Regions from separate parts of the Homo sapiens genome. Here regions 1, 2 and 3 are each linked to region 4. Evidence: promoter capture Hi-C in 16 types of primary human blood cells and fetal thymus (Javierre and others, 2016). All regions are on one chromosome and are shown on one strand. Each heading gives the region's core, a stretch centred on a gene start or on the middle of the fragment in contact. The rest is flanking DNA. Distances are from core to core; before and after follow the strand shown. Region 1 holds the start of ERBIN (erbb2 interacting protein). Region 2 holds the start of SGTB (small glutamine rich tetratricopeptide repeat co-chaperone beta). Region 3 holds the start of SREK1 (splicing regulatory glutamic acid and lysine rich protein 1). Region 4 holds the start of KGD4 (alpha-ketoglutarate dehydrogenase subunit 4).

Region 1 (6,377 bases), core at 2,350-4,849, 3.3 Mb after region 4:
GAGGTGATAAACATAGACTAACAGTTTGGAAAAGAGGGAAATGGCAAAATATAATTAAGAACGACCAACTGAACACAGAGAAAATAAGGCTAGGTAAATGAAGCTAACTATAAATATAGGAAGCTAAGGGAATCAGAAGAGAAAGCTGAATAGCAGCTAAGTTTCTTTTTTACAATTAGGAAACCTAAGAAGAGACAGCTAAAAAGTGAATCTGAAAAATGGGAGTTAGCAGTAGGCCGGGCTCAGTGGCTCACACCTGTAATCCCAGCACTTCGGTAGGCCAAGGTGGGCAGATCACCTGAGGTCGGGAGTTCGAGACCAGCCTGGCCAACATGGCAAAACCTGTCTCTACTAAAAATACAAAAATTAGCTAGGCATGATGATGTGCGCTTGTAATCCCAGCTACTTGGGAGGCTGAAGCAGGAGAATCGCTGGAACCCGGGAGGTGGAGGTTGTGGTGAGTCGAGATTGTGCCACTGCACTCCAGCCTAGGCAACAGAGCAAGACTCCATCTCGAAAAAAAAAAAAAAAAAAAAGAGGAAAAGACAAAGACATCTTTAGAGGTTTATAATAGAGATGTATTCCCAGAAAAAGAAAACGGAAGCAAGCATGTAACAAATTCAAGAAATGAATGAGCAAGGCAAAGAGTCAAAATGCAAGCAGCCAAGTAGGGTATGTAAGGAGAATCTGGATAAGCAGCAATTACGAAAAATAAAAAAGAAACTGCTACCCAGCATCACTAAAATTCTGCATAATCCCAAATACTCTGTAAGTACTGCCATAATCTATTTCCAAAACAAAAGCAGCTTAAAGTCTAAATCGTATTATCCGTAAGCAATTATTTCAAATAAGTAATTTTGAAATATACACCTATTTTCTGAAACTTTTAACTATTTCTTAAAGGGTATTATTTACTACTAATAGTGCAATACCAACAATGTGTAAAATAATCGATTTTTGAGATTTGCCAATGATATATGTTAATGTATCTATAGTTATCACTTCATTAAGAAACAGCATACAATAAAAATTTGGTTTCCATGTTTGTACCTCTGTAAGCTTTTTATACATAAAGTTTACAATAGTTTGATCTCAAATGGCAAGGAGACCTCGTAACAGTACTACTTGAATCAGTTGAAGTCCTGAAAATTCATGATTACCTTCAATAAACAGAGCCTTTAAGTGTGTATTTTGTGCAATATAGACTTTGGAAGTACTCTCTATTTGCCAATTTAATCTTTGAAAATCCACACCATACTAGAAGAATATCCAAATTTTGAAGCCATTTAAAAATATTTTAACGGATGACTCCTCTATTAACCTCTTTTCAAACCTTTGTCACAGTTTAAACAAAGCTTCGAAAATACTTATAGTTTCACAATAGTATAAAACCTAAAATTTAAGTTAATTCGGTGATAAACTAACAGAATTCCAAGAAAACTACGAAGTAAATTATGCCTTGTTGAGGAGAAAAAAAAGAAACACAAAGGTGAACACCTCACTTCATAAAACGTGTTGTCTGCATCGAAACATACTACTCTTCTCCTGAGAAAAAAAATCAAGAACTAAATCTAAAAATAGAGGCTTAAATAGTCATTTTCAAGTGCTACAATACTTTTTTTATACAAAATTTACTAATAAATAACCATCTTCATAAAGCGATAATTCTCTGTAAGGGACTTGCTCTATTAAGGTTTTGTTGCTTTTGAAGCCAAGTATAAGCCATATAAGGAAACTGAAGTTCAATGCCATTTATTTTGTTCACCTCTTTCAGATGCCCAAGAATAACCTCTTTTGCAGCCTAATGATACGTTCCAAAATCATAAAGTAGATGAGTTATGCACTTTAAATTCTTTGATAAAGCTAGTTTGACTTAACAAGAATTATTCCATGGTTCACAAATCTTACCAACAATGAAAAAAAAAAAGAATCTCCTGAGACCATGCCCCGGGGAGGAAAAAAAAAATCAAAACTACAGTAATAAATAAAGGACTGCCTTTGGAGATGTACTTAATGAAGCTGAAGTAGCAAAGAACAAATTGTGAAATAATTTGATCCTGATCTTTAAAACTTATTTTTTCTCTTTGAACTAAAGAAAATCAACTCTCTCCTCGGGTTTCCGGTCATTACGTGAGACAGCATAGGCAATCTAAACATCAATATATATTTAGGATATACCTACCAACAGGATTACCAAATTTATTCAATATATATTCAAAAGTACAGTATTGTATTTCACCTCCCTGTACCGCAAAAATACCGGGAAAAAAAGTAAACAGAAAAAGACTAAAACACCACTGAAAAAAACTTTGGGTTTACTGCTATCAAAACTAGTCCCCATTGGTTCAGAAGTGTTCATAGCTCTGACTGGTGGAATGTCTGCCATGCTTCATGAATCCTGCCCCCACAGATGTAGGCAGAACCTATCACTATTTATGCAGAACCGACCAAAAACATTTGGGACAACACAAAAATGTAAAGACCATACTACTCGAAAAGCACAGCTTTTTATCACAATCACTGTGATTCCCTTGAAAATCGTTTTAAGCGTTTTACTTCCCCTCCCATCGTCTGTTCTGAACTGTACAGAAGTCCTATTAAACGTCTTACAGGTTGTTAATGTTGTTTAATTATCTCTCCCTATTCTTAGTCCTTACTCCTTTTTTCTTCGTAATGGATCAGTTACAAGAAAAGCCTAGTCGATCCTTGCTTTCAATTAATTAAACAAGTTATACGGCGCTAAACGTCTGAAAAACACACACTACACACAACTAAAGAAATATATTACTCACCCTGAAAAACAACTAAGAATGGCAAGATTTTTTGGTTTCTAAAATCTAACTAAATATACTGATCAGGGTTGGAAATAAAAAAATAAAAATAAATACCTCTATATACAATTAACGCAAGCGCCAATATAATCGGTATGAGTATAAACAAACGCGGCAGCCATCTCAATAACAGCAAATCACTCACTGCAGCGACCAAACTTTCTTCCCAAACAGAAGGTGCCTGGCTGAGCAACTTAATATACACTCTATACGTTCCAGAAAGCCAAAACTTCTGGCCCCTGTGCTGAACAAAGGCAATCGTTCTTCGGATTACTAAAAACTTTTCGTCCCACCGCATTCTTACAACCTCTTCCAAAAAATTCAAAGTCCAGATGGTGGGGGGGGCAGGGGGGAGAAGGGACGCGGTGGGGTGCAGTTCGATTATTTAGCCCCTCAATTATTAACCGCTTCGATATGAGAAAAGGAGGGTTTAGGGCAACTTGGAGAAGAGTGAAAAACACTAAAGAATCATCTCTTTTCCGAGTCACAAAGTCCCATGAACTTTGTGACTCAGAGACACTTTTCGTGAAAATTACCTTTCGGCGGGACACCGTCTCAGGGCAGCTTTTTCAAGGCTTCGCTTGACATGATTTCCTTCCCTTCATCAGTCACTTTGGATCCAGCTGAATATCTCTCTCGGGTGAGAGCGGATGTGGACTGGCCTCCCACAGAAGAAGAGTAGGTGGCTTTGGTGGGGGTTGGGGTGCGGGCTGGCTTCCTGGTCTCGAGTTTTGCAGGAGTTTCCCAGCCCCAACGAGGATCTCCGCCGAAAAAAAAAAAAACAAAACTTTTCACTCGTGACACCGCCCGGAATTGCAGTGCGAAACTCACTTCCTGCCTTGGCGAGAAGCAGGATCCAGCTCCGTCCAGGGGAACCCGGAAAACCAGCTCCGCGCGCACCGGAGAGGGGGAGGGGAGGGGACGGCCGCCGGGAGCCTCGGGTTCCGGGCAACCGGCGCGCCCGGCACACCGGACGGCAGCAGCACCCGGCCGGCGGGGGCGAGGACGCTGCCCGGGCGCTCGGCGAGCCTCGGCCGCGCTAGGCCGCCACCGCTTCCTCTCCGTTGCCCCCAGAGCCGGGCGGCAGGGTTATTGTCTCGATAGCGCTTGCCGCGCCCTTCGTCCGCGACGCCGCTGCCGCCGCCACCCGGAGCCGGAGCCGAGGAGTCGGGCAGGCTCAATAGCGGCCCCCTCCCCGGGCCGTCCGTCGGGCCGTCCGTCCTTCCGTCCGTCCCTCCCCGCTTTCCCTACTCGCCCTCGAACCCTCTTCTCCTCCCTCTCCCGTTTTCCCGCCACCGTCCCTCCGCTGCCCTGCTTGTTCTCCTTCGCCAGCGGCGGTGGCTCCCCGAGACGCGCAGGGGGCGGGAGCAGGAGGCAGCTCCGTCTCCTCACGAGCTTGCGGGGCCGCGGCAGGGGCCGAGACTGCGTCCCGCGCCGCCGCGCCACATTCACTCGAGCGAGAGACGGCGAGGGGAGGGAGGACGGAGGGAGCGGAGAGAAAGGAGGAGGAATGGGGCAGGGGCGGAGGGGAGTTACTGCCTCACAGGCCGCGGCGGCAACAGCGCCACCGCCCCGGCCGCGACGGGTGAAGAGGCTGCGCGCCGCGACTCTGCGGCGGGGGCGGGGGCGGGGCGGCCTCCCGCCGGCTTCGCCCCAACCGCCAACAGCCGGGCAGGAGGCCTGCGCGGGCCAGTCAGCGCGCGGGGGCGGTGCGGGCCGACGTCGGCGGCTGGGGGCAGCGGGCCGGGGGCCGGGGGAGGGGCAGCCGGCGGCCGTGGGTTCGCGTGCAAGGCGCGCCGTGAGGCCCACTCTGGCCCAGGCCCCTCGAGGCCTGCCCGCTGCTCCCTGCCCGCTCCCCGACCCCGCACTCCCGGACTCCCGAGCCCCCCAGGGTGGGGAACGCTGGCAACGCCGACCCTGCTGTCTGCTCGCGGCCCAGCGCCCAGCCAGAGAGATAGAGAGCCCACAGGCCTCCGCCGCGCCGGCCGATGGAGTTTCTTTGTACGACAGTAATCGGTGCACAGGGGTTGTTGGAGTCCAGCCCTGATTTGAAGGCAGCAGGTATCTCTTGCAGCTGCAGCACTCCAACTTCCTCTAATGGCACGGTCAGGTCGCAGGAAACCACAGCGGCAGCGCGGTGCAGCTTCCCACGCCCGCCCTTCGAGCTTGTTCCCCAGCGGCGCAGCTCAGCCTCCTCCAAGTCTCAGCCTCATACCGGCGGGGAGACAAAGCTGGCGCTGGGAGTGGGAAAAGGGCCCGCGAAATGGCCTCAAGATCGTGCCTTTGTTAGAAGAAACATGGGTACGCTCCGATGCGACGCAGGCTTCCAACCCCAGCGGTTCGGTGGTGGTGCAGTCGTTGAATTGCGCTGGCCCTAATAATTCAGCCTGGCAGGGTTCGCGTTTATTGCGGAGAGAGACTCTTAAGCATTCTGTCAACACATATGGCAAATAGAAAGCCTCAACCATAACATTGCACAGTTTTTGCAGTTCTTGCTTTAAATATGTTCACAGAAAAGACGGCCTTGTTTTACCCAGAGAAGGAGCGTAATGCGGAGCGAACCATTCGTCACCCCCATTCTCTGCTGCACTTAACTGTGTACAGTGATGATAATTAGCCTCTGGGTCCCTGAAGTCCCTGGTTCAGTTCTTCCGTCTGTATTCTAGAGATAATTATTTATTACCAAGTTTGAATAAAGAGCTATATCCCCTACAGACCTTTTTTTTTTTTTTTTTTTTGGCTTGCCAATGGAAAGAGTTCATAAATTCCACCAAGTAATCATTTACCAAAATGAGTTGTACATTAGTTGCAAACACTTGAAATAACGCCGAAGATATTCAAGTCATTTTATTCAGGTTGGGAGCATTTTTAACTACTTGAAGAACTGCTGGAATTAATACAGATGTTAGGTTATTTAGCATACAGCAGAAGTTGAAGATTTACAGGTAGTACTGAAGTGTTCAGATATATTCAGTGCTGAATTAGAGGTAAGAGTATTCGCTGGAAGCTAGGAAATGGCAGCAGCTATGCCAGTGTTACCAAGCTGGATATCTATGTGAAAATGAATCTTAACCATTGCATAAAAAGCTAAAGTTAGCATATTGTACAAGCTATTTGTAATCATCGCTGGGAAGATTTCTTGCTCCGTTTTCAAAAACCGTTTTGCGCCTGATCAGAACTCAGTGGCATAGCTCTGAACTGAAAGGGTCACTCTCCTAAAGCATCCCAGGATGGAATATCTCCCATACTAGTGGAAAACCAGCTAGATTCTGGGATTCCAGTGTTGCTTCTAATCTCAGGTTGATTCGAGACCCCTTTAAATGTGATGCCATAGATTCGAGTAAACCTAACCCTCCTCTCTAAACTTAACTGATCAAGCCACTGCTTTAGGCTAAGACTTGCCCTGGTCCTAGCCTTTTTAAAATTTATACTCACACTCAGGACCAATCTGACAGACTACCATCTAGGCTAGAAAAGTACCTATAATCAAAAACCCTCCAACTCACCTGAAATTCTGCCATTAGAGTTTTATCCCTTTAAGTAGTT
Region 2 (6,324 bases), core at 491-2,990, 3.5 Mb after region 4:
TGAGAATTGTTCTTTTTTTTTTTTTTTTTTTTTTGAGACGGAGTCTTGCTCTGTCGCCCAGGCTAGAGTACAGTGGTGCGATCTCGGCTCACTGCAAGCTTCGCCTCCCGGGTTCATGCCATTCTCCTGCCTCAGCCTCCCGAGTAGCTGGGACTACAGGCGCCCGCCACCACGCCCGGCTAATTTTTTGTATTTTTTAGTAGAGACGGGGTTTCACCGTGTTAGCCAGGATGGTCTCGATCTCCTGACCTCGTGATCCACCCGCCTCGGCCTCCCAAAGTGCTGGGATTACAGGCATGAGCCACAGCGCCCGGCCGAGAATTGCTCTTATATGAAGATTTATTCCCTCCTCTCACCCCTGCATTATGTGAAGTCTTCATTTCTTGGTATAACTTCATTTGACAGCTATATCGATTGCAGCCTGGAGACTAGCAAAAAACGACAGGCTGAAATATGGTCACCAATCACCACATTAACTCTTTGTAATTAACCACTGTCGCCTGCCTGCTCCCTAACTCTACGGACTGAGCAACACAAAGCTCCATCCACACAGACGAGTGGCAATGTGCAAAAGGGAACTGTAGAAAGCTTAAATGCTGACATGTTACAAAGTAGTTTTGTTGATAGCTAGCAAGAAGCACACATTTTCTTTATTCTGTTGAATCTTCATTTGGATTTACAGTTCTGGGCAGATTTGGAAACGGGGATGGTGGCGGCATTGTTTCCGAAAACCAGCGCATCCGTGCAAAGAATTTAATTCCCTCACCATCTTGCTACTGGTCTGTTGCAGTGGGGTGTGGTTAGAGGGCTAGGAAGCAATCCAAAACAGCAGCTCAGGCTGCCCAAAGCCGTGTCCAAGCGATCATTTTCTCCATTTTGGGCCAAGTCAATTTGCACCGGCAAGAGGCAGAATGTTTGTTTTATGGGGAGGAGGAAAATAAAAAAGGAAGTCAGAGAGCATGGACGGAAACAAGCAACACCACCAAAGAGGTTTCATCTCGGGTGGATGTTAAACGATTGGAATGCTAATAATGGGCGCGAGGAGCAAACACAATTGTTCTGAGTCCACAGCTGCGGCACTTTTAATGACAGGTCTGTAGTTCTGCATTGGGATTGAACGTGAAATGATTTTCTTATCCAAACTATTTGCATTCATTTTGGGCCGCGTCTGTGACCAGCCTCGCTGACTGCGGCTGAGGCAGTCCCAAACAAAGAGGAATGGACGTCCTCCCGAGGGAGCGGAGGCGGGAAAGGTGGCCCCAGGTGGCCGCGCCAGGTGTCCCCCAGGGGTCCACCTTGCAAGCCGCGGGGAGGGTGCGTCCCGGGAGCGTCGGAGAGGCGCGGTCGGGAAGGGGTGGGTCCGGGCTCCAGGCACCACACGGCGAAAGACCCCGCCCTGCCCACGGCCAAGGTTAACCCGCGCGCTGGAGGTACCTGCGGAGGCTTCGCACAGCCAAAAGGCACCGGGCGATCATGGGAGCGCTGAGAGGCTGGCGGCGGCGGGCGCGTGGTCCTTCGGCGTGGGGCGGCGAGGCGGGCGGCAGCGCCTGGGCGCCCGGGAGTCTCGAGCCGGCCTAGCCGCAGAGGCCACAGTGGCTGCCTGGCCAGCGCCCTCCCACGTGCGGCAGCTCCACGCCGGCGCCTACCAGCCCCGCCCCGCGCCGTGCCCCGCCCCAGCTCGCGTGTCTGGCCCCGCCCCAGCCCTCGCGTCCGGCCCCGCCCCAGGGGCGGTGCTGGCCAGACCCTGCCGCCTGAGAGAGAGCACAGCCTGGTGGGTTCTGGGGTCTACGGCCTAGGGGCCGGGGAAGTTTGCGCCGCCGCGACCAGTGCTGCGATCCCGAGCCGGGCTCCAGCCCCGAGGACCAGGGGTCGGGCGGGCCTGCCTACGGAACCCCGCGGGCCAGCAGCAGTCGTCTCGCGTCCTCCTGCTTGGTAAGGGGCTTCTGTCTGGCAAGGGTGCGCCTCCCGCCGCTCCGGACCGGGGCCCGCACCGGCACCCGCTGCACACCGGGCAGGGCCGAGGCGAGGCCGGGTACCTGAGGGAGGACGGAAGGGAGGGGGAGCTCGATGCGCTCTGGGGAGAGGAAGGGGGAGAAGCCTATTTCCCTCTTCTCACCCCTTTTCCCCCCATTCTGTTTTTACCTTCTGCCCTGGGGCCTTATTTAGTGCTTATGACCCCGTGGCCTAGAGGCTGACATCGCCTTTAAAATAACTACACAAATAATAAACATTATAGCGGCGGGTACCACACCCTGGCTTTGAATTAGGGAACCTGGGGAGCAGATGGATGATGCGATTTGGTGGAAATCAGCCATGAATGCCGCCTGGCCCTGCGCCACTGTTTGGATGCGATAGTATTCCATGTGAATGAACATGACCGGGAGCTTCCAGCTTGTCCACGAGAGCACAGCCTCTGCAGGGAGCGCCGGTCGGCTTGTAGTATCCATCGACTTGGGCAGCGATTTCCTGACATGTCTGCTGATTAAATAGAAATGCCATTTTTATTAAGAACGACACTCACCACTTGAATAACCTTTCGCGAATGTGTTTCCTCATCAAATAACTCTCAACCTACAAAAGTGGGTAGAGTGTACATTATTAATACTTTTTTTAGATCCCATGAAAAAGAGGAAGATGCTTGGTATACATCAGCTTTTAGTCAGCAGTATGAAATGCCTCTTAACTTAGTACTGAGGCCTTTAGGGGATTTCTGTATGGTGAGATATGCAGTGACAGTCTAAGCTTATGCTGTACATGTTTTGAAGACATTTTTACTTATTCCAAGATTTAACATACTCGTATACCACTGGGTATTAATGAAAATATGTAATAAATTACCTTCACAATACTTTGTGCTCTCCTGACTCTTTACAAAGAGAAAAGATGAAAGGTCATACAGTTTTGTGTTTTGTTTTTACCTTTAATACACTTTATAACCCATATCATCTTTGTAATTTATGACTTTCCTGACTGATTCTTTAAAATAACTTAGTTCAGTGTTTTCATTTTTCTTATCAAGGAAAAGTGTTTAAGCTTCTAAAATGTCATCTATCAAGCACCTGGTTTATGCAGTTATTCGTTTCTTACGGGAACAAAGTCAGATGGACACTTACACCTCGGATGAACAAGAAAGTTTGGAAGGTATGCATCTGCTCTTTGTGTTCATTTATATTATAATTATAAACGAAGACTAAAATAGCTGTAAGCCCAACTTGATGATCTATTGTAACATAATCAGAATTTTTTTTGATCTTTCAAGAGGAGAGGCCTGACTATAAGGTTATCGTATTTCCATTTTCTGAAGCTTGTTTTGTTTGTTTTAACAACAAATTAAGAGGACTATTGTTCATTTATTGAACAAATACTATATGTCAGAAGTATGCTGTTCATATTATAGGCAATTTTTTCTTCACAGCAACTGTTATGTTAGTATTATCCCCATTTAACAAGTGAGAAAATAAAACCAGGGCCAGGCTTGGTGGCTCATGCCTGTAATCCCAGCACTTTGGGAGGCCGAGGCAGGTAGGTCATTTGAGGTCAGGAGTTCAAGACCAGGCTGGGCAACATGGCAAAACCCTGTCTCTACTAAAAATACAAAAAGTAGCCAGGTGTGGTGGCACTTGCCTGTAGTCCCAGCTACTCAGGAGGCTGAGATAGGAGGGTGGCTTAAACCCAGGAGGTGGAGGTTGCAGTGAGCTGAGATCACACCACTGCACTCCAGCCTGGGCCATGAGCGAGACCCTATCTCAAAAAAAAAAAAAAAAAAAGAAAAAGAAAATGAAACCAAATAGCGTAAGCAGATAACACAGCTGATATGTGATAAAGCTGAGATTTAAATCCTGGTTAATACTCTGAAGATCTTGTTGTCTCCATTTCCTAATAGGAAAGCATCCAGTTTAGAAATAATATATAAAAATACCTGAGTCATTTTAATAGCACTATGTAAAAGTCTAATAATTATACCACTAGTGAGATCTGACCAGTGCCTAATTTGGAACTTGAAATGGGAGCATTTCACCTGTGTTTTACGTTAACTTTAATATTGGATTCGGTAATCTGTAAAGTTGAACAGGATGTGGGTGATAGCATCATGTGTTTCCTCGACACCGTCTTTGTTCTTCATGTTTATGTGTTATAAAATTTAAATTCAGTACAACCATAACAAGGTAGAATTCTGCAGATGGGCTTGTGGAGGTTCAGTGAATCTGGTGTCCCTGTGGCCTAAAGTCTTTTATTTATTTATTTATTTTTTGAGACAGGGTCTGTCTGGCTCTGTCACCCAGGCTGGAGTGTAGTGGCACAATCTCGGCTCACTGCAACCTCCACCTCCTGGGCTCAATTGATCCTCCCACCTCGGCCTCCTGAGTAGCTGGGACTACAGGAGTACACTACCACACCCGGCTAAGTTTTGTATTTTTTTTTGTAGAGACAGAGTTTCGCCATGTTGCCCAGGCTGTTCTCAAACTCCTGGGCTCAAGTGATCCACTCGCCTTGGCCTCCCAAAGTACTGAGATTACAGGCATGAGCCACCCCTCCCAGCCCCAAAGTCTTAATTATTGCAGTGAGAGTGCATTTGGAAGAACTTAATAAATGACAGTATAGTTATAAATCCCATCTTGAAACTGCTTCTATAATTTCAACAAGCATTTCCCTGTGAATATGCTTTTAGGAGGTGGAGATGAAAATTGGGCATTTGCTCTAAACCTCCTTGCAGTCTGGTTAGTTGATGTCTTTCCAGGTGGCAGTGAGAGGAGCAGGTGATGCACAGTTGGAGAACATTGCAATCAGTCCATTTAATATTAAGGTCTTTTTGTTCTCCTTGATGATTAGACTATGTGAAAATAAAGTTGATTGGTTATCTAAGGAGAATGTTAGTTATGATTGCTCTGTAGCAAACAGATAAATGCAGTCATTTAAGAAAAGATGTTTCTTTTCTAATCAAAAGCAGCATAAAAGTTTTAAGGGCCAGAAAGAAAATTGAGGGTTTTTTTTTCAAACCAAGATGTTATGTCCTATTTTTAGGATGGTATTCAGCCAAAAATATGTGCCTTCAGCTGTTTGTTATATATGGCAGTCAGAAAGGGTGCCAATTGTTTTTGACTGACCCCTATTTTTGACTCTGTGAGTCTAATTTAATTGAACATGAAATCATGTGGAGGTGTCTGCCCACCTTCTAGACATTTTTAAAAGCCCTAGGAAAGAAGCCTCAGTTCTAATACCAGCTTTACCACTACTGTGAAGCTGGTATATCATCAGCTTTGTCTTGCCATCAGATTATGTCACCCACTCCTCTTAATTATTGTCATCTACTGACATTTGCTTCATTCCTTGACTAATTGTGGTTCCTGCTCACTGTCACTCTCTCTAGCACTACTCCTATTTAGTTCTTGGCAATTGCAATATACTGATTGATGATTATTTTAGTTCCCTGGCTCTCAGTTATTGACCTCATCCAGTGATCTCAAACACTTGATCATATTCTAGATCAGTGGTTCTCAACTTGGGGGTGATTTTGCAATATCTGGATACATTCTGATTGTCACAACTGGGTGAGGCGGGTGGCTGGTATTATTGGCATCTAGTGAGTAGGTAGAGGCCATGGATGCTGCTAATGCACAGGACAGCCCCTGACAAGAAGAAATTACCTGATCCAAAATGTCAGTATGCGGAGATTGAGAAAGCCTTCCCTAGACTTAATCATTACCAGAATTGCATTCCTTCCCTAATCTCTATCCCAAACATTTCACTTCCTGACCACTATTGCCTGTCTTTCCAAGATTACTCCCTCTAGAATCCCTACTCCAGCTATTCTTTGACCCAACCAGTACCTCCAATCTGTTCATGCCTCACCTTTCCCCACACCTCTTCTTACTCATCTTAAATTCCATGGTTGATAATTATAATTATTCCCTTGTATCTCCTTCCCTTTCTTGCAAAGCCCAACTTTGTTTAAATCCAACTCTCCACCTACTTTGTGCCCAACTACTCACACCCACTCATGTAGCCGTAAATAAATGGAGCAAAACACACAACTTTGCTGACTAGTCCCACTTTAAATTCATGACTGTGAACTTCAAGTAGACCTTTAATGCTGTCAGGCAATCACAGTATCTGTTCTAAGTTCATTCATACATTTATTTTCCTAGATGACCATTTTAACACTTTCTCATATCTTCTCAAACCCTCAAACCTCCTTCACTGTCCTCACTTTTAGTTGGTTACCTTGCTTTCTACTCCACCAAGAAAGCTGAAATAATAAGAAAATAGCTGGATATGATGGCACCCACATACTCGGCCTGCCTGCCTGTTTGACTAGCTATTACC
Region 3 (6,117 bases), core at 1,712-4,211, 3.1 Mb after region 4:
TGGCAGCACAAAAAAAGGATGACAAACTACAAATAAGAATTCTTAATGCTTACAGTGAATGTTCACAAGAATTCCCTAGCCTTAAAAAATTCTTAACGTTTAAAAGATAAAGATGAAACTCAACCACTGCATCATGCCAAAAGAATTAAATTTAAAATCTGAATTTTCATATTAGCAACTTAAGTCATTTAAGTCATTTTTTTTTAAGAGATAGGGGTCTCAATATGTTACTCAGGTTGGAATCAAACTCCTGGGCTCAAGCTGTTCTCCCACCTCAGCCTCCTGAGTAGCTAGGACTATAGGTGCACACCACCACACCTGGCTCAATCATAAAATTTTAATGAGAAACTATTTTCACATTCTATTAATGTATTTCCAATATACCTGGAAATATGTATTTGAAAATAAATATATTTCCAATTTTAAAACAATTTAAATTTCTACTCAACTCTAAAGATGTCATAAAATAATTTATGTGACACTGCAAAACAATATATTTTCAATACAACTACTACTATTGCATTTTGTATCCATTTCAGTCCAAATTTGCAAACACGTCTTCTAATATAAGGACCAGGCAATGACAACTTCATTACGAAGCAGAAAACCTGTGAATAAAGCATGTCAGTATTGCTGCAAAACATGAATGAGGGATCTAGTATTGCACTTAGGGAAAAACTAGTTAAGGATTTTGCCTGGCCTATATATATTACACGTATGCAACAATTTTGCTTAATGTGTTACAGTTTGTGAAATACACTACCGTAATCTTCCATATGTTTAAGTGAAGAACTTTTTATTCTCTTTGACTTTTAAATTCCAAGTAATAACATCTGATTTCAAAAAAGTGGCCCATTACTGTCAGTTATGGCAATGTGTTGTCACCCAAACCCAGGTTTCAACCAAATAAATATTATGTTGATAATGAAGAACATTCTCCAATATATTTCTTCTACCTATGAGATACCTTATTACCACAGCCTTGAAAGCAAGATTTACAAAGGTTCATGTACAAAGTATTTTACTGATTGATTCCAATGCCTGCAGGATACGGCACTCCCCCAAACAATTCTCAATTATTCTCAACTATTAAGAAATGTTCTGAGAACTTAAATTGAGATGGCTGAAAGCATTTCCAAAAGTTAAGATAATTAAAGCAATAATGCCACGGTTAATCAATCAAAATGTACGTGCGTGCACTTATGCAGTATTCTCGTCAAAAATGTATTACCTGAATCTCGTCACGAATATAAAGATATATATATACACATATCTCTATATACCTCATCTATATATCTCATCTATATAAACTCAGATTATGAGTCATATTACAAGACAAAATGAACTACAAAACAAAATATCAATGTCACGACTTTAGAATCTTTAAAAGGGGACGGGACTGTCCTAGATTAAAGGAGATAACTATTAATACATGGATTACTTGGCATATTCAAGGGAGACAGTGTTATCTAATTACATACTAGATCAAAAGCAGACAAAAAAGCATTATTAAAATAACTGGGGAAATTTTAATAATCAACTGTAGCCAAAAACAGACAAAATGCTCGTAAAAGGAACATGGATGTTCAATGTATTACTCTTTCAACTTTTCTGTATGCATGAAATATTCCAAAACAAAAAGCAGAGAAGAAAAACTTAAAAAGTAAATTTTAAATATCCACACAACTTTTATATAGTTATGCAACAGCACTGTTATAACCTGAGATAGAAAACTAAAGAAAAATAGGTCTAAATGCATCACTAGGAAATAAATCAAAATTTTTTTAAAGAAATAAATCTTGGGTAACAATTACCCCTTCCCTCAAAGGATTTTGATATAATGAACAAAAAACGGAGGATCTTAATACTGTAAGATCTACCATTAAAAAAGAAAAAAAGTTTGTGTGCAAGAATGTGAACAACCTACAAACCCCTTGCGAGTTTTCTAAATAATATCGTACGAGGGAAATTTTACCATTCCAAAATACACTATCTGGGAAGTGGCCGCGAGCTGTGAATGCCAGCCAAGATCTGGACTTTAAATGTATACGGGAGGGATAACCCTGCACCGACTTACACTTTTTCTGAAAGCTTTGGGACAGTGTGACCTTTCAGGAGGAAAATTTAATCTGCTGTCAAAAGGGCTAACAGACATGATCTTTGGGAACATGGATGCGCTCGGTTAGATAAACCAAAATGCTAAGTTTGTGCGACCGTCCTGGGAAACAAACACAGCCCCAGTTCCATCTTGTCACCAGCAGCAGGCTTTCTCGTCAGCAAAACGGCCTGACACCAAGGCCTTAAAAACTGGACTGTGGCTCAGGCGCGGTCTCCGCGATTTTCAGAGTGGAAAAACGCTCTGAGACGTTTGCCATGAGGGCTGTTCCGGGCCCACCTGCGGCCATCTTAAGTTCGGGGGGAAATAAGAGGGTGGGGGCACGGAATTCGAAGACCCAGCAGCGAACACAAGTCCCGGAGGCACAGAAAGGGCAACCATTCTAAATCCTTGGTAAGGGCTCCGTGCAGTAGTTAACCCCCCAAATCCGACTAAGGAGAGCAGGACGGCGGAACCCGGGTGCCCTAATCAAATATGGGCACCAAGGTAAGCCGGCGCGATCACGTGACATGCACCGCGCGCCCGCGTCCGCGCTCTCCTCCACGCCTCGGCTCCCGAGGTCTCTATGGCGCCCGCGCCCCTCCCCCAGCCGAGCTCCAGCACTTACTCCGGGGGGTAGAGCCGCAGCTCCTCGATTTCTCCTAGGAAGGAAAAAAGCGTCCGCATCTGCTCGCTGGTCACCGCCGACGACAGATTCGTCACCTGAATCACCGACGTGGGGGTGAGGCCGAAGCCTAAGCCCAAACCGAAGCCGCCGCCGCTGTTCATCCCGATCCCGCTGCCGTTGCCTTCCCGCTCCCCAACGTCTACGACGCGTCAGCGACGGAGCCGGGAAAGCGGAGAACGCGCGGCCGCGAGCGCGCTCCCGCTGGCGAATTCACAGCGCCGGGCAGATCTAGCCGCCCATTTCACAACTCCCCTGCTCCCGGGGCTGCGCGCGCCAGCCGGAAGCGTCGCCCCGGCAACCCGGCGGTTCTCGCGCGGCTGCGGCCTCCAGCTCCCGGGTCCCTGGGGCTGTTGCTGCTCGTTTCACCGCCTGGATTTTTATCGGTGTTTTTGTTTTCCCCAAAAGTCGATGAGAGTCTTGTGCTCATGTCTACCCGGTTCCTTCCGGTCTCGGATTGGGAAACCAAGCGGCCTGGCCTACTGGTGCGGGACTGTAAAGAAGGAATGACTCTTGGACAACACGGAAGAACACTTGACCAAACTATAGGGCAGCCTTATCACATACAGGCAGCACCCCAACTCCAACTATTTTTAAAAGTTGGCAGGCGTCCTAATTGTGAAAAAAACAAAATTTTACAAAATGCGTAGGTTCAGGTTGAATTAAGGAAAGAGGCAGTAAGATGAAGGCTGTGCAGGGGTTGTTTATAACCTGTTTTTAATTCCCTCGTTCCACAGGTGTTGATGTTTATTGAGTGCTATGTCCCAGGCACTATTAGGCAAGGGCACGTAACAGACAGTTAAAGACAGTTCACATAGAACTTGCAACCTAATGAGAGACAACAGTAGTGAGTCCATGGCAGCTGCTCCCAAAATGCCCTCCGCAGATCCCTAAGGGTACCGAGACCTTTTCAGTAAGTTGGCAAGGTCAAAACGATTTTCGTAATAATATTAAGAGTTTCTTGACCTTTTTCACTTTGTTGCCATTTGCACTGGTAACGTAAAAGATTAAACTGCTGACACCTTAGCAGCAATCAAGGCAGTGGCGCCAGTCTTGTACTGGTAGTTGCATTTTGTATTCTTCACATCATACAACATTTAAGGTTTTAAAGTATGCTAGTTTCACTTTAAAAATGTCCTTCACAAATAACTAAAAATTGTATTTTTTTTTCAAATCCATCCTTGCTTACACGTCTTTTAAAGAATATGTGTGAAAAAATGGAAACTACTGCCGCTACATGCCCAAGTGAAATGGTTGTCTCCGGAAAAAGCACTAGTGTAATTCTTTGAATTTTCACCTAAAAATACAAATTTTATTACACTTGTATCCACCAGCTTGAGCTTGACAGCTTGCCAGTACTTAAAGACTTTTCTAGTAAAAGAAGCATTATATTAACAATTTATTTTTGACTATATAATGAAATATGTCAACATTTTTGTGATCTTTACAACTTAGTGGACACCTATTTTTCAAATGGCCAGTGGGTGCCATTACAAAGGCAAAAAGCCTCTGGTATGTGCAAGATAGATTGATGGATTTCAGTGCTTAATTGATGTGGTTTCAGATTCAGTCCACACTGCAATGAAGGCTAAGAAACTACCACATGTAAGTTTGGTACCGTATCAAAGAATAATATCTAGAACTATCTGGAAAGGCTATAAAGTAGTTTTCCCTTTTCCAACACCTTATCTTTATGAGATCAGATTTCCCTCATATATTTCAACCAAAACATATCACAACAGATCGAATACACAGAAAACTCATGATCACAAAGAAGGAAACGTCAGTCACTGTGGTCTACTTGAGGGTGGAGGGTGGAAGGAGGGAGAGGAGCAGAAAAAATTATTGAGCACTGGGCTTAATACCTGGATGATGAAATAATCTGTACAACAAACCCCCATGACATGAATTTATCTATGTAACAAACCTTCACATGTACCCCTGGACCTACAATAAAAGTTGGAAAAAAATAAAGAATACATAGATAGGAGAATTCAGCTGTCTTCTATTAAAGCAGACATTAAAAAGGTTTGAAAAATGTAAAACAATGCCACTCTTCTCACCAATTTTTTGGAAAAATATTTTATCATAAAAATGCATCATTTTGCCTTCAATCTCGGTTTCTAAGAAAAAAATGCGTCATTTCTATTAACATAATGGGCTTATAATTATTTTTAAATGAATCTCAAAATACCAAATTTCTCAGGTTTAATTTATAATGTGGATAGTAATAAAAGCATTTTACAGTCCTTAATAATCTTTAAGAATGTAAAGGGACTCAAGACCAAAATGTTTGAGAATTATTATTACCATAGGTATAAGCATGGAGGAATTCAGAGCACACAGGAGGGCCTCTTAAACTTAGTTCTAATGGAATACTTCCCAGAAGAAATATTGCTTAAGCTGAATATTGAACAAATAGGAATTACCCAGGCAAGGAGGGAAGGAGGAGCAGTGAAGGGCATTCCAGACTGAGCATGTAGAATATGCAAAGGCAGGGTTAAGGTAAAAGAGAGCTCGAGTGAGGTACAGAAGATTCAAAGTCTGTTATTGCTGGGCTGAAAATGACTAGAGATGCATGCAAAGGAATAAGCCTTTATGAAGGGTATTATTTGTCATGGTAGAGATTACTTTATCATAAGCTGGGAGCCACTGAAGACCTCGGAGCTGAAGAGTGACCCTGATCAGATTCATGTTCTAAAATGACTGGCTATGTGCGGTGGCATATGCCTGTAATCCCAGGATTTGGGGAGACTAGGGCAGGAGGATTGCTTGAGCCCAGAAGTTTGAGACCAGCCTGGGCAACATGGAGAGACCCCGTTTCTACCAAACAATAACAACAAAAAAGTAGCCAGGCATGGTGGTGCATGCTTGTAGTCCCAGCTACTGGGGAGGCTGAGACGGGAGGACTGCTTGAGCCTGGGGGTTCGAGGCTACAGTGAAAATGAGTTGTGATTGTGCCACTGCACTCCAGCCTGAGTGACAGAGTAAGACCCTGTCTCAAAAAAGAAAGGAAGGAAGGAAGGAAAGAAAGAAAGTGATGACTGTCACTGCAACCTGGAGATACATTGGAAAGGGTTCAGACTAGAGGCAAAGAAACTGGGTAGGTTATTGCAATAATCTGAATAAGCTATAATGAGGTCATGAACAAAGGTAAGAGGTGGTAGTAATGGAAAGCAAGGAACAGCCCCAAATTTGAGAATCACTGAACTCATTTGAAGATAAAAGGAATAAAAGCTGTCCACTCAGAAAAATATATATGGACATAAACTCACTTTTAGCTACAATTACTGATGCTTTCTGGTCCTCCTGAAGTCCAACCATAGATCTCTCGGAT
Region 4 (6,123 bases), core at 2,480-4,979:
ACTATCTCTTTATTTTTACCTTTCCAAATCTTAGTTTTAGCTATGCCTCTTATAAATAGCATAGCACTGGATTTTCATTTGTTAGCCAGTCTGAAAATGTTTTACTTTATTATTTATTTTTTGAGACCAGGTCTTGCTCTGTTACACAGGCTGGGGTGCAGTGGAGTGATCGTGGTTCACTGCAGCGTCAAACTCCTGGGCTCAAGTGATCTTTCCACCTCAGCCTCCTAAGTAGCTAGGACTACAGGTACACACCCACACACTACCCCTCCTGCCTGGCTAATTTTTTTTTTTTTTTTTAGTATTTATTGATCATTCTTGGGTGTTTCTCGGAGAGGGGGATGTGGCAGGGTCATAGGATAATAGTGGAGAGAAGGTCAGCAGATAAACACGTGAACAAAAAGGTCTCTGGTTTTCCTAGGCAGAGGTCCCTGCGGCCTTCCGCAGTGTTTACGTCCCTGGGTACTTGAGATTAGGGAGTGGTGATGACTCTTAACGAGCATGCTGCCTTCAAGCATCTGTTTAACAAAGCACATCTTGCACCGCCCTTAATCCATTTAACCCTGAGTGGACACAGCACGTTTCAGAGAGCACGGGGTTGGGGGTAAGGTTATAGATTAACAGCATCCCAAGGCAGAAGAATTTTTCTTAGTACAGAACAAAATGGAGTCTCCTGTGTCTACTTCTTTCTACACAGACACAGTAACAATCTGATCTCTCTTTCTTTTCCCCACATTTCCCCCTTTTCTTTTCGACAAAACCGCCATCGTCATCATGGCCCGTTCTCGATGGTTGCTGTCTCTTCAGAGCTGTTGGGTACACCTGCAGAAAGGCTGTCACTTCACACTTGGAAGATTGCACTGCGGCCAGGCAGAGGCGCTCCTCACTTCCCAGACGGGGTGGCGGCCGGGCAGAGGCGCTCCTCACATCCCAGACGGGGCGGCCGGGCAGAGGCGCTCCTCACTTCCCAGACGGGGCGGCTGCCTGGCTAATTTTTATAGAGATGGGGTCTTGCTATGTTGCCTAGGCTAATCTTGAACTCCTGGCTCAAGCAATCTTCCCACCTTGGCTTTCCAAAGTGTTGGGAGTACAGGTGTGAGCCACCGTGCCCAGCTGGCTTTGTCTTTACTTAATGTTCTGAGACCACGCTTTGTGACTTCCTATCAGTTTGTACCAATCAGTCTTTTGGCACTCTTCTCTTCCTTCAAGATATGGATCAACAACCAAATTCTAAGCTCTATGTTTTTTTGTTTTTTTTTTTTGAGTCAGGGTCTAGCTCTACTGTCCAGGCTGGAATGCAGTGGCATGATTATGGCTCACTGTAGCCTTGATCACCCAGGCTCAATCTTCCCACCTCAGCCTCCTGAGTAGCTGGGACCACAGGTGCACATCACCATGCTCAGCTAATTTTTTAAAATTTTTATAGAGATGGGGTCTTGCTATTTTGCCCAGGCTGGTCTTGAACTCCTGGGCTCAAGCCATCCTCCTGCCTCAAACTACCAAAGTGTTGGGATTACAGGCATACATCAGTGAGCCTGGCCTAAACTCTAACTGGCACTGTAGTCCTAGCTTTATAGGCCTGTCACAGAGATACTCAACAAATTTTGCTAATGTTATATGTAATTATTACATAATATTAGCACATACTTTATTATTTATTTTTCGAGACCAGGTCTTGCTCTGTTACACAGGCTGGGGTGCAGTGGGGTGATTGTGGTTCACTGCAGCGTCAAACTCCTAGGCTCAAGTGATATTATATTAGCATATTGGTTGTATTCTCTCTTTTTTTCTTTTTTTTTAAGAGCGCAATCACGAACCTGATTTGAATTCTAAATAGGTGAGTACAGGTCTTTGTTCCTATGTTAGAAGGGCACAGACCATTCCTTACTGTATATCTCACAGTTTCTTCATTTGTTTGCACACATCAGCTGTTAGTATTGCTTTGGACTGTACTATTTTAACAAACTACCACAATTTGTTTATGCAAAAGACAGACATAGAGATTGTTTGTGGTTTGGGGGCTATCAGAAATAGAGCCAGGGACCCCATGGCAGTATATATAGTACCTGCCTGCTGAGATGCCACACTCCTGCTGCCAGGCTGGAACCCCTCAGCTCTGGACCCCAGTTCTTTGCTAGTAACTCTTTTTTTTCTGTGAACATTTACGTACAGAGACAGTATGTGCATTCACTTCTCTTGGGCAATAAACCTATGAGTAGAATTGCTGGGTCATACGGTAGATACATGCTTAACTATTAGAGACTGACAGCTTTCCAAAGTGGCTATAACATTTTATATTCCCACCAGCAATATTGAGGGTTTCAGACGCTTCACATTCTCATCACCACTGACGTCTAAATTTTAGTCATTTTGGTGGATGTGTAGGACCTCATGGTTTTAATTTTTATTTTCCTGGCAAGTAATGATATTGAGCACCTTTTAAAATGTTCATTGCTCATTTGGGTATCTTTTGTGCAACACGCCAAGTCTTTTACCCATTTTTAAATTGTTATATATTATTGATACATATGGTTATATATTATGGATAACAGACCTTTGTCAGTCTCTCAGTCCTTACAGAATCTTTAACTAGTTGATGCTCAGTAACTACCTACTGAATAAGTAAGGATCATTCATTGCAATGGGACCAAAGACTGGGATCTAGGATTATCATTCAGACAACAATTTCAGGAATTTAGAAAAAGGTCTTTTAAGAGATGTACTTATATAAAGCGGAATGTACTTCTCATATCAAAGATAAAAGTCAATTATAAAATAATATAGTTTCAGGGTTCAAAGACTATGTAAACCAACCACAAAAGTGGAGGTTGTGTTCCACTTATATAATAATTTTACCTAAGTTAGAACCACAGCTGAAGAAACAAATAAAAAGGCTATCAGGAGTTAGTAGCTGATAGGTGGATTAACAAAGTTACTTTAGCTGTCTATCTAAACCAGGGGAAAATAGGCTTGTGAAACCAACGCTTATACACACACACACACACACACACACACACATTAATATACACACACACATACTAATTAAACTTAAGTTTACTTTTCTATTTCCCTCATCTGGCCTGTAGCCAGACGCTTGGAGAGGTTGGGGAGAACCCGCTCCGGCGAGGACGCAGTACGCGGGGCCAGTTGCCCGACCATTCCCGAGACCTTGAAGGGACAGTGGGTCAGATCCAGGGTTCGCTTCCTTCCACGCCCCGCTACCGCCTTCCTTCCGATTGGCTGATCGGGGGCACCACAGCCAATCCTAGACGGCGATTGGCCAGGCTACCGCCAGGGTCGCCTCACCCGCACACGCCTAAGACTAACAAGGTCCTGGCGGAGGAGCGGGGGATCCCGGCAGTAGGTACAGGACCTACCTGCCAAGATGCTGCACGGTTGCCGCAAGGCTCGAACCCTCGGCGCCGGACCCACCTCACTGCCCGGTCCAACAGGCTCAAAGTCCCATCCTCACACACACCCGCGGGCGCCGTCACTGGCCCTCCGCAGAGGCGCGGTCACCGCTCTGCCTCTGCCACCGCCTTTACTCCCCGACGCCGTCGCCATAGTCAGCACCGTCCCTACCGCCCAAGATGCGGAAACGCGACAAATTGCTTTACCTGAACGACCCTACTAGCAGACGCCATCTTGCTGCCCATCATGACCCCCGAGAAGGGGCAGTTTCCGGGGCGCGAGCGAGCCGCGGCGATCACTGGAGTCCCGGGCAGCTGTGGGCGGTGCTTCCCGGGACGTCACGGAGGCGGAGACCGGACTGGGCTCTCCTCCGCCGTGGGGCTGGCTCCGCCCCCTGTGCCTGACCCCGCCCACCCCTTCTCCCTACTAGGATCCACCCACGTGTGTTCTATTGTTTCGTTTTGGGGACAAAATTTTGTTAAGGTGGGTCTCTGCTCATTAGCCTATAAATTGTCTAGGACCATTTCCTTTCCAGAAAGCCAGTCTATAATTTCGATATAGTTCAAAATTTTATCTGGAACCAAATAAATAATACAACCTTCTTATCTGACAGCTCTTGCAAAGATTAAAAAAATTAAAGAAAAACAAAAAAAAAACCTTGCGGTTTCCTAAAATGAATAATTTCGTTAAAATGGGAGTTAGTGGCAAGCTCACAAGAGTTTACTCTGGCTTAAAAAGGGCCATGTCACACTCTCTTGCTGATTGGCATTGCTTGATTGTAATTTGTTTCTGTTTTCTTTACCGTTTATTACTCCTGATATCGAACTGCTGGGCCTTTGCTTCAAGTTGAGATAACTCAAAAATTCAGAAATATTTGAAATGTAAGCCACTCATATCTTTCCCCCAAAATTACATTACGGGCGGGGCGCTATGGCTCACGCCTGTAATGCCAGCACTTTGGGAGGCTGAGGCGGGCGGATCACTTGAGGTCAGGAGTTCGACACCAGACTGGCCAACATTGTAAAACCCTGTCTCTACTAAAAATACAAAAATTAGCCGGGCGTGGTGGCGGGCGCCTGTAGTCCCAGCTACTCAGGAGGTGAGGCAGGAGAATTGCTTGAACCCAGAAGGCAGAGGTTGCAGTAAGCCGAGAGTGTGCCACTGCACTCCGGCCTGAGCGACAGAGGGAGACTCCGTCTCAAAAAAAAAAAAAGTTACATTACGTTCTGTGATAATGCTTAGGTTATATATAGTATTGTAAGCTTGACCAATGTGTTTGATGATATACATCAGTGATTTCTAAGTCTTGGGATCTTTTTAGAAATATAAATTACTGAACCCAGGTATGGTCTATTGGGATTCAGTGACTACAGAGAGGCCATTAACCCGTTTTGTTTTGTTTTGTTTTTGTGGTTTTTTTTTTTTTTTTTGAGACGGAGTCTCGCTCTGTTGCCCAGCCTGGAGTGCTGTGGCGTGATCTCAGGTCACTGCAACCTTTGCCTCCTGGATTCAAGCAATTCTCCAGCCTCAGCCTCCCCAGTAGCTGGGATTACAGACGCCCGCCACCACGCCTGGCTAATTTTTGTATTTTTGGTAGAGACAGAGTTTCACCATATTGGCCAGACTAATCTCCAACTCCTGGCCTCAAGTGATCCACCCACCTCAGCCTCCCTAAGTGCTGGTATTACAGGCGTGAGCCACTGCGCCTGGCCCCATTTTAATTATTTTCAAATGTGCAGTTCAGTCACATTAAGTACATTCACATTGTTGGGCAATTGTTACCATCTTCAGAAACTGTACCCATTAAACAAAAACTTATTCCTCCTTCCCTCAGCCTCTGACAACTATCATTTTACTTTCTGTCTATGAATTTGACTACTGTGGGTACTTAATGTACGTGGAGCCATAACAGTATTTGTCCTTTTGTAATTAGCTTGTTTCACTTAGCATGTCTTCAGAGTTCATTCATGTTGTAGAATGTGTCAGAATTTCTTTTTTAAGGCTGAAAAAATCCCATTATATGTGTATACCACATTTTGCTTATCCATTCATCTGTGGTAATTCTTTTTTTTTTTGAGACAGAGTCTTGCTCTGTCACCCAGGCTGGAGTGCAGTGGTGCCAACTCGGCTCACTGCAAGCTCCGCCTCCCTGGTTCACACCATTCTCCCACCTCAGCCTCCCAGGTAGCTGGGACTACAGGCACCCGCCACCACACCAGGCTAATTTTTTTTGTATTTTTAGTAGAGACAGGGTTTCACTGTGTTAGCCAGGATAGTCTCCATCTCCTGACCTCGTGATCTGCCCGCCTCAGCCTCCCAAAGTGCTGGGATTACAGGTGTGAGCCACCGTGCCCAGCCGATAATTTTTTTTTTTTTTTGAGACAGAGTCTCGCTGTGACACCCAGGCTGGATGCAGTGGCATGATCTCAGCTCAATGCAACCTCTGCCTCCTGGGTTCAACTGATTCTCCTGCCTCATCCTCCTGAGTGGCTGGGATTACAGGTGCCCACCACCACGCCCAGCTAATTTTTGTATTTTTAGTAGAGACAGGGTTTCTCCGTGTTGGCCAGAATGATCTCAAACTCCTGACCTCAGGTGATCCGCCCACCTTGGCCTCCCAAAGTGCTGGGATTACAGGTGTGAGCCACCGCACCTGGCCCAGTTCAATGCTTTTTAGAAAATTTTCATTTGAGACTCCTTTGACCTATGCCT

What was found. Contacts are between HindIII fragments. The CHiCAGO score rates a contact against its expected background, and 5 or more counts as called.
Region 1: a contact is called between the fragment with the promoter of ERBIN here and the fragment with the promoter of KGD4 in region 4, in 1 of 17 cell types (non-activated CD4 T cells). The highest score is 6.2, in non-activated CD4 T cells.
Region 2: the fragment with the promoter of SGTB here is called in contact with the fragment with the promoter of KGD4 in region 4 in 6 of 17 cell types (naive CD8 T cells, activated CD4 T cells, total CD4 T cells and 3 more); the score reaches 15.9 in naive CD8 T cells.
Region 3: the fragment with the promoter of SREK1 here is called in contact with the fragment with the promoter of KGD4 in region 4 in 1 of 17 cell types (activated CD4 T cells); the score reaches 5.6 in activated CD4 T cells.

What each region holds. Positions count from the first base shown.
Region 1 is chr5:65,923,797-65,930,173 of GRCh38, reverse strand. It overlaps ERBIN (erbb2 interacting protein), which reads right to left and starts at 3,599. Exons shown (of 26, transcript NM_001253697.2): 1 at 3,368-3,599. RefSeq lists enhancers at 3,446-3,665, 3,626-4,250, 5,156-5,375, 4,875-5,499 and a silencer at 3,746-4,835. The HindIII fragment of the contact is 7,086 bases long and covers 1,358-6,377 here.
Region 2 is chr5:65,717,525-65,723,848 of GRCh38, reverse strand. It overlaps SGTB (small glutamine rich tetratricopeptide repeat co-chaperone beta), which reads left to right and starts at 1,740. Exons shown (of 11, transcript NM_019072.3): 1 at 1,740-1,932; 2 at 3,020-3,141. The coding sequence starts at 3,042. NLN (neurolysin) reads right to left here and starts at 1,644. Exons shown (of 13, transcript NM_020726.5): 1 at 1,435-1,644. The coding sequence starts at 1,475. RefSeq lists enhancers at 380-459, 232-1,053 and silencers at 1,330-1,939, 2,010-2,059, 2,120-2,169, 4,214-4,410. The HindIII fragment of the contact is 2,154 bases long and covers 591-2,744 here.
Region 3 is chr5:66,141,144-66,147,260 of GRCh38, reverse strand. SREK1 (splicing regulatory glutamic acid and lysine rich protein 1) reads right to left here and starts at 2,961. Exons shown (of 12, transcript NM_001077199.3): 1 at 2,724-2,961. The coding sequence starts at 2,884. RefSeq lists enhancers at 2,221-2,270, 2,331-2,390, 2,651-2,930 and a silencer at 3,111-3,180. The HindIII fragment of the contact is 9,482 bases long and covers 2,094-6,117 here.
Region 4 is chr5:69,215,366-69,221,488 of GRCh38, reverse strand. KGD4 (alpha-ketoglutarate dehydrogenase subunit 4) reads right to left here and starts at 3,729. Exons shown (of 4, transcript NM_033281.6): 1 at 3,618-3,729. The coding sequence starts at 3,659. RefSeq lists enhancers at 880-1,504, 3,153-3,447. The HindIII fragment of the contact is 5,941 bases long and covers 1-4,675 here.